2 separate regions of the Homo sapiens genome follow, and region 1 is linked to region 2. The links are contacts of gene promoters, found by promoter capture Hi-C in human tissues and cell types (Jung and others, 2019). All regions are on one chromosome and are shown on one strand. Each heading gives the region's core, a stretch centred on a gene start or on the middle of the fragment in contact. The rest is flanking DNA. Distances are from core to core; before and after follow the strand shown. Region 1 overlaps LOC107983981 (a long non-coding RNA gene). Region 2 holds the start of ONECUT1 (one cut homeobox 1).

Region 1 (6,211 bases), core at 146-2,645, 69 kb after region 2:
AAGATTAAATATCTCACACGGTTCAAATTCCAAAAGGGTTTCATGAATTTACGAATATTAAGGAGAGCATGCTTAGGATGAATTCACAGAACGCAGTGTTTGGCTGATTAATATGCAAGACTACAATCCACGATGGAAGAAAAGTGGGAACAAATTCTTGCTTTGATTGTGGTGAGGTCAAGACCCAGCATGTGGAACCAGCGGGAGAGAAAACAGAGAACAAAACGGTGGAAGAAAATGCTTAGAATCTAACTTATGACTCATATCTTAGAAATGTTTGGAAAGAGAACATTTTTGTAAAATGACAGACATCTAGCAATGGCAGAGCCATGGGAATCCCCTTTAATACGAGATGGCTCTGTTTAAATACACATGGAGATGAATATGAAACATGGAGATGGTTAGAGTAAGTCATGGGGTAAGAACAAATTGAGACCAGCCACTCAGGGCCACGTTTCAGGGGCTGTGACTTGAAGTGGCTGAGATAAATACTTAGATCACTCAACTGGGGATTATAATGGGAGTGCTGGCAACCCTCACTAATTAGGATGCTCTCAGGCAGCTCTGTAATAGCTTCGGGGAGCTGCTGTCAGTAAACAGTGTTATATTCGGGGGTTGCTGCATCGGGCGCCTCTCCACACCACAGAGACTTCACTTGCTTTGCTCCTAGCAGTCATCTTGCTCCCAGCTCTTCAACACTCCAAGGAACTCAGTGCCCTTCTCCCAGAGACGCAAAGAATTCTGAGTTTACCTGCAGTCTCCTCCGCAGGCAGAGGGTGAAAGATGACACCTGCAAACACACAACTAATTATAACCCTATTTAGTTCCTGTGGGCGAACCTCTCCGTCCATCCCTTTTGCCCTTTCCCACATTTAATTCCTATCTGGTGAGGAGGAAAGGATTATTTCTGGAAACCAGCCTTTCCCCTCCAGCTCCCCTCAGCCGCCAAACACAGACGAATCATCCTGTGGTAATTAACAATCTCGTCTTTAGGAGTACATTTTATGGTACTCTTGGTCAGGTAAATTCTAAATTAGCTCAGTTAAAATGGGTCATAAGACATAGCGCTGCCGTCCCTATTAGCTCCTGGACCTCCGCCAATGTACCGCACTATTTTGGGAGCTGGGCTTCTGGCAAAAGGAATCATTACCCAGAGATTATGTGCAGGGGGGATCTGTGTGGAGGACACGCAGTAGTGGCACCCTTCCCTCCTGGCTTCACTCGCAAGTTCTGGGGTAATACATGAAGAATTGGAAAGAATTAATTTTGGGAAGGGGAGCATATAGGGGTGCTGAGGGAGAGCTCAGTGAGGTGAGGTCGCTATCCCTGTGGTCACCCAGGCATGGGGCAAGTCTGCTGCTAGGTTTCCTTTTGAGATTCTCAATGGCCCTGAAGAGGATAGAGGGGCTTTGCGAACACCTCCAAGAGGGGTTTACTGCCCCAGGCCATGCATAGGAGGATTTAGTGGAAAGAGGTTGGGGGCCCTAGGATCTTCTTGGAAAGAAATATCTGCCTGCCTTGGGCAAGTCACTTTCCCTTCTCTGGTCCTGTTTTTTCACTTGTCAGTTGAAAGGACTGGGCAAAATGACCTCTGAGAGTCCTTTCCATCTCAAACATCTTGTGACCCTTTCTGCAAATCAGTGGAGTTGTCCTAGGGTGTTTGCCTGACTCTCTGGAGACAACCGTGGGTTTTGTTTAGGACACAGTTGCCTCTGGTTCTGAGAGCCTATCTTTTTAGGATTTCTATTTTACTGGCAACTTTTGATATTCTGAGCTCCAGGGAAACAAGGAATTCAGAACATAATCCATTGTGCTCTGAATGCAAAGAGAAGATTACTTACCTTTAGAAATATATGCAAACAAATTTTTTTGAGGATCTACAGTATGCCAAAGCAGTTTGCTAGGAGCACGTGTATGTGTACTGTGAGGATAAGGGAGGGAATAGGTTACTGCGATTAAACTAGATACCCTCTCTGTCCTTAAGAAGCTTGCAAGCTAAGGAATACTGATGTGGACTCAAAGAATTCAAGAAATATAGAGGGAGGGTTGAGTTTGAGTTGACTATGAAATGTCCAGGAGAAAAAAAAATGAAATTGGAATGAGAGAGACGAGGAGCAACTTTTAAAAACATTGTGGCGGTAGGGTCCTACCTAGATCTAAGATGGAGAACATTTGGGGCACTGGTATCACTAGGGATTCCATAGATTTATGTCCTTTGGGTATAATTTATTAAGCAAGGGAGCCTGAGAAGTGTAATTTTAAGCCTCTCAGACTCTGTGATATATGGCTGGGGAATGGGAGGATGAATGTAGGAAGGGAATTGAAACAGTGCTTCAGCAATAAGGAGTTTAAATTGGATCCACAGGGCAATGAGAAACCACTTTGGGGCACTGAAGTATGGGCTGGCATACTCACCATATCATCATAGCAAACAACTGGCACAGTCAGAAGGTGTGGAGACGTCATCAACGTTACAGTTTAATAAAATGATAAATAGCTCAGATCACAAAAGATGAGATATGCAAAACTTTGTGAAATTTTAAAGGGAGAAAAAACAAAAATCTCATCCACATTGGAATATATACAATATTTATTTAAAAACACTCATATACAGATCCAAAGACACACAGTTAAATTAAAAAGAAAAAATCCCAGCTACCATTTAAACCTCTTTCTGAGGAAAAGGGGAGACCAAATGGCTCCTTTGGGTTCCTTTATAATTATAAATACACCATTTCATAGTGTCTTTTCCCCATTTATTCTTTCCACTTGTGCGGTCACAGTTGTAGTTGCAAAGAGCAAAGTCCACTGTAGTTAGTTTAAGGAAGAAAGGAATTAATATAAAGGATATTCAAAGCAGGGAGAAAGACACTTGGGGGCAGGCTTCTAGGAGGATCACTAAACTGTAGGAACTGGCCTGATGGTTAAGCCCTGAAGCTGTTGAACAGATGCTGGGAAACCCCAATTATTGCACCTGCTGCAGCTACCAGCCCTGCTGCTAGTTTTGTGTCAGAAATACTATCCCGAACTGCCAGAAAAACTCTACCACCAAAATCTGCATGGCTCTGCCATGTCTCTCCCCAGGAACGAGAGGTGTCCCCCTCAGCGCACCTCACATATCACATACTTTCAAGACACAGTGTCACGTTTGTGTGCCTGATTAGCAGAGCCTAAATCGCAGGCCCATGTCCTCCCCGCAAGGGGACTGGGCATTTGCATTTAATTTTGGAGAGGCTGGATTCACAATGTAAGGATTTCCGCAGACAGAGGAAGTCTATTCCAAAGACAATGGGCACTGTGTATGTAGTAGATGTTACTACTCCATCCCAGGTAGCTTCTTGTTTCCAAGTATGTGAAAGAGAAGATTGTGGGCAAGGAAAGAGGACAGGAAACTTCTATTGAGAGGCTCAGTGGTAGATGTTGTGGCTGTGCCACCCATATCCATGTGATATGGTTTTGCTGTGTCCCCACCCAAATCTCATCTTGTAGTTTCCATAATCCCCACATGTGGTCTGAGGGACCTGGTGGGAGGTAATTGAATCACAGGGGTGGTTTCCCCCATCCTATTCTCATGATAGTAAGTAAGTTCTCATGAGATCTGATGGTTTGATAAGGGGTTTTCCCTTTGCTTGGATCTTATTCTTCTCCTTCCAGTCATCATGTAAAGAAAGACGTGTTTGCTTCCCCTTCCACCATGATTGTAAGTTTCCTGAGGCCTCCCCAGCCATGTGGAACTGTGAGTCAATTAAACATCTTTCCTTTATAAATTACCCAGACTCAGGTATGTGCTTATTGGAACTCACCATATTGAGGTGCTGCTGCCACTCCCAGCTGCCACTGTCTGCATAGCTTAGCCTGAGAGAGTACTCTTGGAAGCCAGAGTGGCAGTACTGGGGAAATTAACACTGCTCCTTGCAGCTGTCAATAAATTGCTGACTTGCCCCTTGGGTGGGGTACCCCAGAGGCTCCTGTTTTACACTGTGCCCCAGAGTTCTCCCTGGCTTTAAGCCCTAGTTGTCCACAGTGGTAGCTGGCTTGGTAGCAGACCCTCTAGTGGCTTCCTTCTCTTCCCTGTCTCACTTCCTCACTCACCACTGGTTTTTTCTATATTTCTCAAATACACTACCTGTGCCTTGTCTTGGATCTGCCTCAGGGGGACCCATGGTCAAGCTGACTTACTTTGCCGTAGGTGCTCTCACATTTATTATGAGTAAATTCTTTGAGCATCATCATGCAGTAGTGATTAAAGAGGAAAGCCAGGCTCACTTCCCAGCCTTGGCCTCCACACAAGGCTTCTCCCTCCCTCCCTCCCTCCCTCTGAAGTCTGTGTGGAGTGGGGCTGCTCCCTGGCAGGGCCATGCCCCCAGGTCTTCAGGCTCTGCATCAAAAGCCCTCACAGCTTCCCTTTGCTGCCCCCAGGATATTTCAGGCTGGAGAAAAATCACTCCTAGGACTATCCTTTGCACAAATTGGTGCTGAAATACTTTAAAGGGGTTCAGCTTACCTCTCTCAGAGCTCTTCTCTGCTCTTTTTGAGGTGGCAGGAGATGAAAGAGAGTGAAACAGAACATTTGTGAGCCTCTACAATGCCAAGAAATATAGGCTTTCTGCCTCCTAAGACCAGATTCCCTTGCAACAGAGGGAGGTAATTTCCAGCTTGCTCTACAAGAAGAAATAAAGCAATCATCGTTCCATCAGTTTTCTAGTGTAGAGTTCTTTCAGGTGATTTTGCATCCAGCATTGCTGGTGTCAACAGAGCCTTAGCAGGGCTGAGCTACCTGCAAACCTTTACAAAGGATCTCGGCGGGAGCACTGGCAGGAACTCTTTTCTCAGAGTCTGCATACTCTATCAAGATCAGAACATTTTGTACATGGTTTTGGAACATGGAATGGACCCCTTCAAAGCATGCTCCTATAAGAGTGGCTTGAAAACATGGAGAAAGAAGTGCTCTTTCCAAAGTTGTTCTCTCTCCAGGGCCTGGCTCTTGACTGGCTCCAGCTGCCGACGGCACTCTCACCCCTCCATCGGCAGACGGGCTTCCCACACTCCTGCCCCTTTGCTTTTTCCAGATATAAAAGTCAAACACTCTGAGTGCAGTACCTTTTCTCTGAAAACACTTGACCCACGAGTTCCACAAACACTCTGTTTTCAAGTTGTGGAGAATGGAGGCAAAGAAGAGAGAAGCGATGTCTTTGGAATTATTCGGGGCACGGAGGGAAGGAGAGCTGCCTCAGAAAACGCTCCTTTAAGAATTAGAGAGAAAGGCTTTTATGCCACTTAGTGCTTGAAAAGAAGCACTAGAAGGGGCCAGTGTGGAGGGTGCTTGAGGATGAATTCAACAAATACTGCAGAATATAAAGTTTTTATTTTCTTTCTCTAAATTATCCTTCAGAAAATAGGGAGTTGTTTTATAGCTAGTTAATGACAATTTTTTTTGAATGCCTACTATGTGCTAGGCAATATTCTAGACTAAGGGTCAGCAAACGTTTTCTGCAATGGGTCTGGCAGTAAATATTTCAGGGTTTTTGGAGCATACAGTCTATGTAACAACTGTCTGATTCTGCCATTACAGAGTAAAAGCAGCCATTGACAATAAGTGCTGGGCCTAGCTGTGTTCCAATAAAGCTTCATTTTTAAAAACTTGTCCAGATGCAGTGGCTCATGCCTGTAATCCCAGTACTTTGGGAGGTTGAGGCAGGACGATTGCTTGAGGCCAGGAGTTCGAGACCAGCCTGGACTACATAGCAAGAACTCATCTCAAAAAAAAAAAAAAAAAATTAGCTGAGTGCAGTGGTGCATACCTGCAGTCTTAGCTACTCAGGAGGCTGAGGTGGGAGGATTGTTTGGGCCCAGAAGGTTGGGACTGCAGTGAACTATGATAGCATCACTGTACTCCAGCCTGGGCTCCAGAGCGAGACCCTGTCTCAAAACAAAACAACCTTAATTTACAAATTTGGCCCACAGGTTGTAGTTTGCTAACCCTTGCCGTAGACACTGGGGGATATATTAGTTAATGAAATAAAGCTCCTGCCTTCAAGGAACCTATATTCTGATGTAAGTGCTACTTTAAAATTGGTGTCCTTACCAATAGGTACTGTGGCTTGGGACAAATGATCCAGAGACAGCATTTATCATGGATTAAAAAAAGGACTGGATGGAAATAAAGACAGTGTGCCTTGGAAATTTATGTGAAGTGACCCAGAAAGTGATC
Region 2 (5,949 bases), core at 2,042-4,541:
CAGCCCCTTCGCCCACTCCCTCCGGAACCTCAGTTGCTCGCGGGCAGCCCACGGGTGGAGATATGGTGCCGGTAGCACAAGAGCTAGAGAGTGGAAAACCGGGGGCCAGCGATTCGCTGGGGCGCCCAGCGAGCCTCTTCTCCCCTGACTGGTTCCCGGGCGCAGGCTGCAGGAACCTGCATGAGGACTTTGCCTGGGGCGAACGAAGGCAGAGCTGGGCTGGAAAACCTGGCAGGGCAGAGTCTCAGCCAGCGCGGTGCTTTGGGACCGGTGGCCTGCAGCGCCCAAACCCAAAGAACGCTTTGGGTCGCTTCGGGGCACGAATCGCAGGCTGGTCGGCACCTGCCACCCCCAGCTTCTCATTGGCAGGCACGAGTTGGAGGAGGGGGCTTTGGCCTCACGCTTTGATTTTAGACTGTGAAACGGCTCAGTGCCCCCGGCTCAGAGCGGATTGACTGTCTCTCGTTCTCCAGGGACGAATTAATGGAGAACGATCAGTTAATTAACAAACCCTCATTCCGGCTTTTACCTTTTCTCTTCGCCAAGGCTCAGGCCTGGGCGCTGGGCTGAGATGGAGGTGGAGGTGGGGGGTGGGGGAGTGGGGGGGGAGGGGGCATGGACCAGGAGTCAATCAACTTGGCAACCGCCGGCCGGATCTCATCAAACCCAGGCCACCCTCCGCTGTCCTTAGCTCTACCTCCCCTCATGTTCTCTACCCTCAAGGGTCGCCGAATCCTCCTGAAATCCCCGGTGGGGTTCGGGCTGGGCTCAGCTTTCTTCTCTGCCTATCCGCGGTCTCGGGGAGCCAGGCGCGGTGTCTGCGCTGCGCCAAGGAGAGCTTCCAGCTGAACTCAGAAACACCTGGGGCTTGGGGTTTCGGGCAGGAGACCTCTGCTCCTAGACTTGGGGGTCATTTACACACTCTCATCCCCAAACCCCCCTCCCGCACGGGGATTCAGACGAAAATCGCGAAGAGGAATAATAAAACAAAATGCAAAGTCCTCAGGGAGTCGGCAGCGGAGTCGGTCCCAGGACATGGCTATTGCTTTGCAGCTCTCACTGGGACCTTGGGACGGTCAGCCTCCCTCTCCTTTCCACAGCCAATTCCATGCGCAGAGAGCGTCCTAACCCTTACAACTCGTCTGTGCTACACACCCACCGCCCAATGGCTCTGAAACTTTTTGCCCATACTCTTAGATTGAGGTCACCCCAGCCAGCGCCAAAAGAATGAGCGCGGGAGGGGGTCACAGCAGCCAGTTCGGCCAAACATCGACGCTGCTCCGGCACGCTCCAGCCCAGCGCCTGGGATGTGTCAGAGGTACCTGCGAGGAACATTTGCGTGCGATTCCACGCACGCGTTGCATCCCTCTTCCCAAACCCGGATCGCTGAACTGAGAGGTGGCGCAGAGTGTCTCACCAGGTGCGGGGATTTCTCTCCGCCTCAGGCCGTACGAGCTTCCCTCGCTGTCCCTGAGCGCAAATGAGCCTCTTCAGTCGCCGAGGCCCGGCCGCTTAGCTCTCGGAGCCTTCCACAGCCCAACACCCTGAGCCCTGGAGTAGGCAATTTGCTCCCACAGCCCTGTGCTGGCCCTTCCAGGCACAGGGAGTCCCCCTTCTAGGGGTAGGGGCGGGCGGGATGAAGCGCACCCAGCCCTCTCTCCTACCCTTCCTCCTTTGGTCCCTTCGGCTTTCGTGTACCTTATCTCCCGCGCGCCCAGCTCCTTGGCCGGCTCACCTGCTAAGCGGAGCGCGGACATGCGCTGGAACTCCGGCTCCTGCAGCCACTTCCACATCCTCCGGAAGGTCTCCCGGCCGGATTTGAGTTTGCTCCAGGGTTTGGGGTTGCGCAGCAGGTCCGAGAGGGTCCCCTGGGAGCGGCAGAGCACCCTCTGCGCGAAGATGGCCTGTGGGATGCTGTAGCGCTTGAGCTCGGTGGTGATACGCTGCGCCACCTCTTTGGTATTGATCTCTTCCATCTGCCCTGAATTACTTCCATTGCTGACCTGCGCGCCGGTCACCGAAGGGTTGGGCTCCCGGGCTGTGCCCAGGAGTTGCCCGTGGCCCTGGGCGTTCAGGTGGGCGTGGGGATGGTGCGGAGGAAGGCCGTTGATGGGCACCATGCCGGCCGAGGTGGGCGTGAGGTGCTGCTCCCCGTGGCGGCCGAGCATGGCCGGGTGGTGGGCTTCGAAGCCGTTGGGGGTGAGCATCTTGTCGGTGGGCATGGCGGCCCCCGGGTGGGCATAGTGGGGGAGCCCTTGCTGGGAGTTGTGGATGCTGCCCAGACCGGAGCTGGAGAGGGGCGAGAGGCTCTGGCCCATGCCGGCCACGTCCTTGTGGTAGGGGGTATAGAGGTTATTCATGGAGGCCAGCCCGCGCTCATCCCGCATGAGCGTGAAGCTACCGCTCACGTTGCCCGCCAGGCGCTGGTGGTGGTGCGGGTGGTGGTGGTGATGGTGGTGGTGGTGATGGTGGGGGAACTTGTCCGAGACTGTGGAGATGGGAGGCAGCGGCTGCAGAGGGGTCAAGGTGGTGTAGGTGGTGGGCATGCTCATACCTGGGGGAGTCTCGCAGGCCATGGTCATGGTGGGATGCAGGGGGCCGGCCAGGCTGTGCTCAGGGGCCCGGTGGTGGTGGTGGTAATCTCCGCCGCCGCTGCCGCCGTCCAGCAGGGACGCCATGCCCATGGAGCGCGGGTGCGCGGGGGGCAGGTGGCTGCCGCGGTGCGCCACGGAGCTGCGCGCGTGGGGGCTGCCGCCCAGCAGGTCGGCAGGGGCGGGCACCGGCTCATGGCTCACCCCGTGCAGCTCGCCGATCGCTTCCATGGTCAGCTGCGCGTTCATCGTGATCCGGGCGAGCAGGCGGCGGACACAACATCGATGTGGCCAGGCAGAGGCGGCGAGGGGCGCACGGAGTCCGGTCTTCACATCGGCTGCTGGCGACTGTTGCCTTCCTTCCTCTCACTGTGGGGCTCTGTCTCTCTCTCTCTCTCTCTCCGTGTGTGTGTGTCCGTGTGTGCGTGTGCGTGTGTGTGTGTGTGTGTGTCTCGCCTTCCCTCTTACCCCCCACCTTCCCCTCTGCGTCCTCGGCTTTTTTTTTTTTAATATTAATTTCCAAAGAGGATCCGCGCCGTTGGGAGAGCGCAGTGCCCCAGCCCGCCCGCCTCGGCCACCTCTCGCCCCTCTCTTTCTTAAAATTCTGAGGTCTCCGGCTCCCCTGCCGCGGCCCGCGCGCCTGCCGCGTCTGCTGCCTGCCCGCCCCGCTGGCCAGCTTGAGCCATGGCTCTGTTACTGTTACAGACTCTGTGGCCGCGGTTCGGTAGCCGCCGCCGCCGCCGCCGCAGCGGCCCGCCCTCACGCCCGCCAGGCGCAGCGCGCATGCGCGAGGCCCGCCCCCGCCCCCTAGGTCGCGGCGCGCCAGGCCCTTGGCGTCCCGGTACAAATGAAGGAGGGGGCCCAGCGCCTTCCCTGCGGCGCTGGATGGCCAGGGAGCTGCGGGCACGTGCGAAAGATTGGCGCAGAGCGCGACCTGGGGCCGCCGCTGCAATCCCAGGAGACTCGCGCCTGGCTCGCTCGCCTCCCTTGCTTGAGTGGGCTCTGTCCTCCCAGCCCGGGGACGCTCGTGTCGGGCTTCTAGCGGCTGGAGTGCTGTGCTTGGAGACATCGCCCCTCTCTCTCCAGTTGCTGCTTCCCGGTGCAGCTTGCCCGGGGAGCTGGGGACTGTGTCATCACCCCTTCGGCTCTAGCCCACTAAGCTTTATTTCCCGGGGGGCTGCTGGGAGTGCGCTTTCCCACCCTTGAATTCACGGCCTATTGGGGGATGGGGGTTGGGGTGGGGTGGGGTGCAGATTGCTTAAAGGGCTGGGTCCGTTTGGCGGCCGTTGACCCGGCACCCTTCGTCCTCCCAGATACATACTTGCCCACCCTTTCTCATCCATGCCCTGGGGAGAGGAGTAATCAGTGCCAAGAATCCCAGTTCGGGCCATACCTCACTGTCCCCCGCCGCCTGGCTCCTTCTCCCGCTCAGCTCATAATTAAGGCTGTGCGTCCGCTTCGCCGATGACTCGGCCTGTGGAGGGGGGCGAGGGAGAGCGGAGGGAGTGCCCTGGAGGGTACCCATGTTAACTTCCGGGTGCTGGTGGGGCCGTGGAGGCTCGGGCCGTCCCTGCGGTTACTCCCAAGGCCCTCCTGCTAAAGCACCCGGAGGCGGTTGCTTTCCAGAAGTACTGACGCAGACAGGGTGGACGCCGGCGCGCGGGTCTCCGCTTGGCCCCTAGGGACGCCCTTTTCCCGGCGTCCCCGAGAGACGCCTCCAGATTTGAAAATCAATTCAGCTTCGGGAGTAATTTCGCCCTTCCCACAGTCACGCTCCAATCTGGAATCGAACCTGGTCTTTGGGCCTGGTGGGGACGTGTGCGGAGGCCCCCAGTTTGAGACGTACACCCGGCCGCCACATGCCGCGGCTTTCTTTCATTTACAAAAGAAAGAAAAAAAATCCGCAACAAAAGGCAGAGCCGTGTCCGCTTAGGTGCTTTCATCCCTCAGAGAAAGGACAGATGTGCCCATTGTCCAGCCCGTGGCAGTTATGGCCGGGTCAGCGCCGAGCCTCAGCCCCAGGCAAGCGGTGGTTACAATGAGAATAGCCTCTCAGAGCCGGGGTATCTGGACTCAGATATGGAATAAAGTGTGTGTAGCCTGTGCTGGGCCAGACTCAGACTGTAGGTTTGCTTGCTGGGGCACCGAACTGCAGCCCACCCGTGGTGTTTCCACTGCAAATGCTCCCAAGCCCTTAGAGAGGCCAAGGCTGTGGTAGTGGTGGTAGTTGGGTTTCCAAGGCAAAAGTTTGGGCTGGCCAACCCTTTGGGAAAAGTTCCCACCGGCCCAGGCATGAGTAGGCCTATCTCTTTGCCCAGGTCCCTGCTACCACCAGGGCAACATCCTAATCCAGGTAGGTCAAGTTCAGTGGATACAGTCAACGTGACTTCCTTGAAGGCGGCCATGTCCTGGGACTGGTTAATCTAGCTGGTTTTATCACCAGAGGCACTCCCATCCTGTCCAAACAATGCATATGGAGGCCCTGCAAATAATTCATCTCAATGGATTTCATGTCTACTTTCATAATGAACAGTTAGGAATTTAGGAACCCCCAGAGAAGAAAAGATATTTTAGGGAAAATACACTGATGTAAAGGAACTCAGAAAACACGATTAACTCTTTAAACTTGTATCTATATCTACCTATTCATACACGCATACACACAAGCACAAAACATATATTTCCTGCCTAGTATATTACAGTACCTTGGTGGAAAGCTGCATCTTTGGTTTTTAATTGTTTCCATTCTCATTTCCTACAGCATGAGACCAAACAATGGGTTAAAGTAGCAGGGAGTCTTTCAGCTAAACAGTTGTCCCCCCGCCCCCGCCCCAATATTTTAATCCCGCTGAAGTGATTGATTTGCCCTTATGACAACTATCTTCCCAAAAGGCAGTTTGTTAAAAGAAAGAAAGAAGTAAATACCACCAAGTGCACAAATTGTTCATGGTTTTCTCTTTGTGTAGCTAATTAGGAACTTGATCTTGGAAACCCTCCTTCATGAGAGGCACTCAGCTGAGCCTCTGGAGTCCACCTGAATAAGGCTGGCATCAGGTGAGCTCAACTTCCCCTCTCCCCCAAGGGCATTTATGAAAAGGGGGGCTGGCTCTGTGTTGGTCCCTAAAGAAGGAGCCAACGAAAAGACCTGGAGAAGCACCATATGTGTTGGCTTGCTCAGTAATTTTTGATTTTTTTCTAAAACATTAAAATATTGTATGTGCAGGATTTGCTTTGGTTTGCAAATCTCCCTAATCTTTCTTGGCTATTCACACCATTTATCTAACCATTGTTCTCCCGTAATTGACTGAGTTGCAGTGGTTTCTCAGTCAGAAACAACATATTACTGTGTTCTTATTTG

Evidence for each region. Contacts are between HindIII fragments. The study calls those that stand out against the background at their distance.
Region 1: a fragment that was not itself captured here is called in contact with the fragment with the promoter of ONECUT1 in region 2 in 2 of the 25 tissues and cell types used here (dorsolateral prefrontal cortex and lymphoblastoid cells).

The regions. Positions count from the first base shown.
Region 1 is chr15:52,857,867-52,864,077 of GRCh38, forward strand. All of the region lies in intron 1 of LOC107983981 (a long non-coding RNA gene), which reads left to right. Among named protein-coding and RNA genes, the nearest start is that of ONECUT1, 71 kb to the left of the region's middle. The HindIII fragment of the contact is 4,821 bases long and covers 1-3,806 here.
Region 2 is chr15:52,787,045-52,792,993 of GRCh38, forward strand. ONECUT1 (one cut homeobox 1) reads right to left here and starts at 3,292. Exons shown (of 2, transcript NM_004498.4): 1 at 1,736-3,292. The coding sequence starts at 2,840. LOC105370824 (a long non-coding RNA gene) reads left to right here and starts at 3,386. Exons shown (of 2, transcript XR_001751550.2): 1 at 3,386-5,645. RefSeq lists enhancers at 3,288-3,582, 3,579-4,347, 4,348-5,115 and a silencer at 3,330-3,399. The HindIII fragment of the contact is 12,558 bases long and covers 1-5,949 here.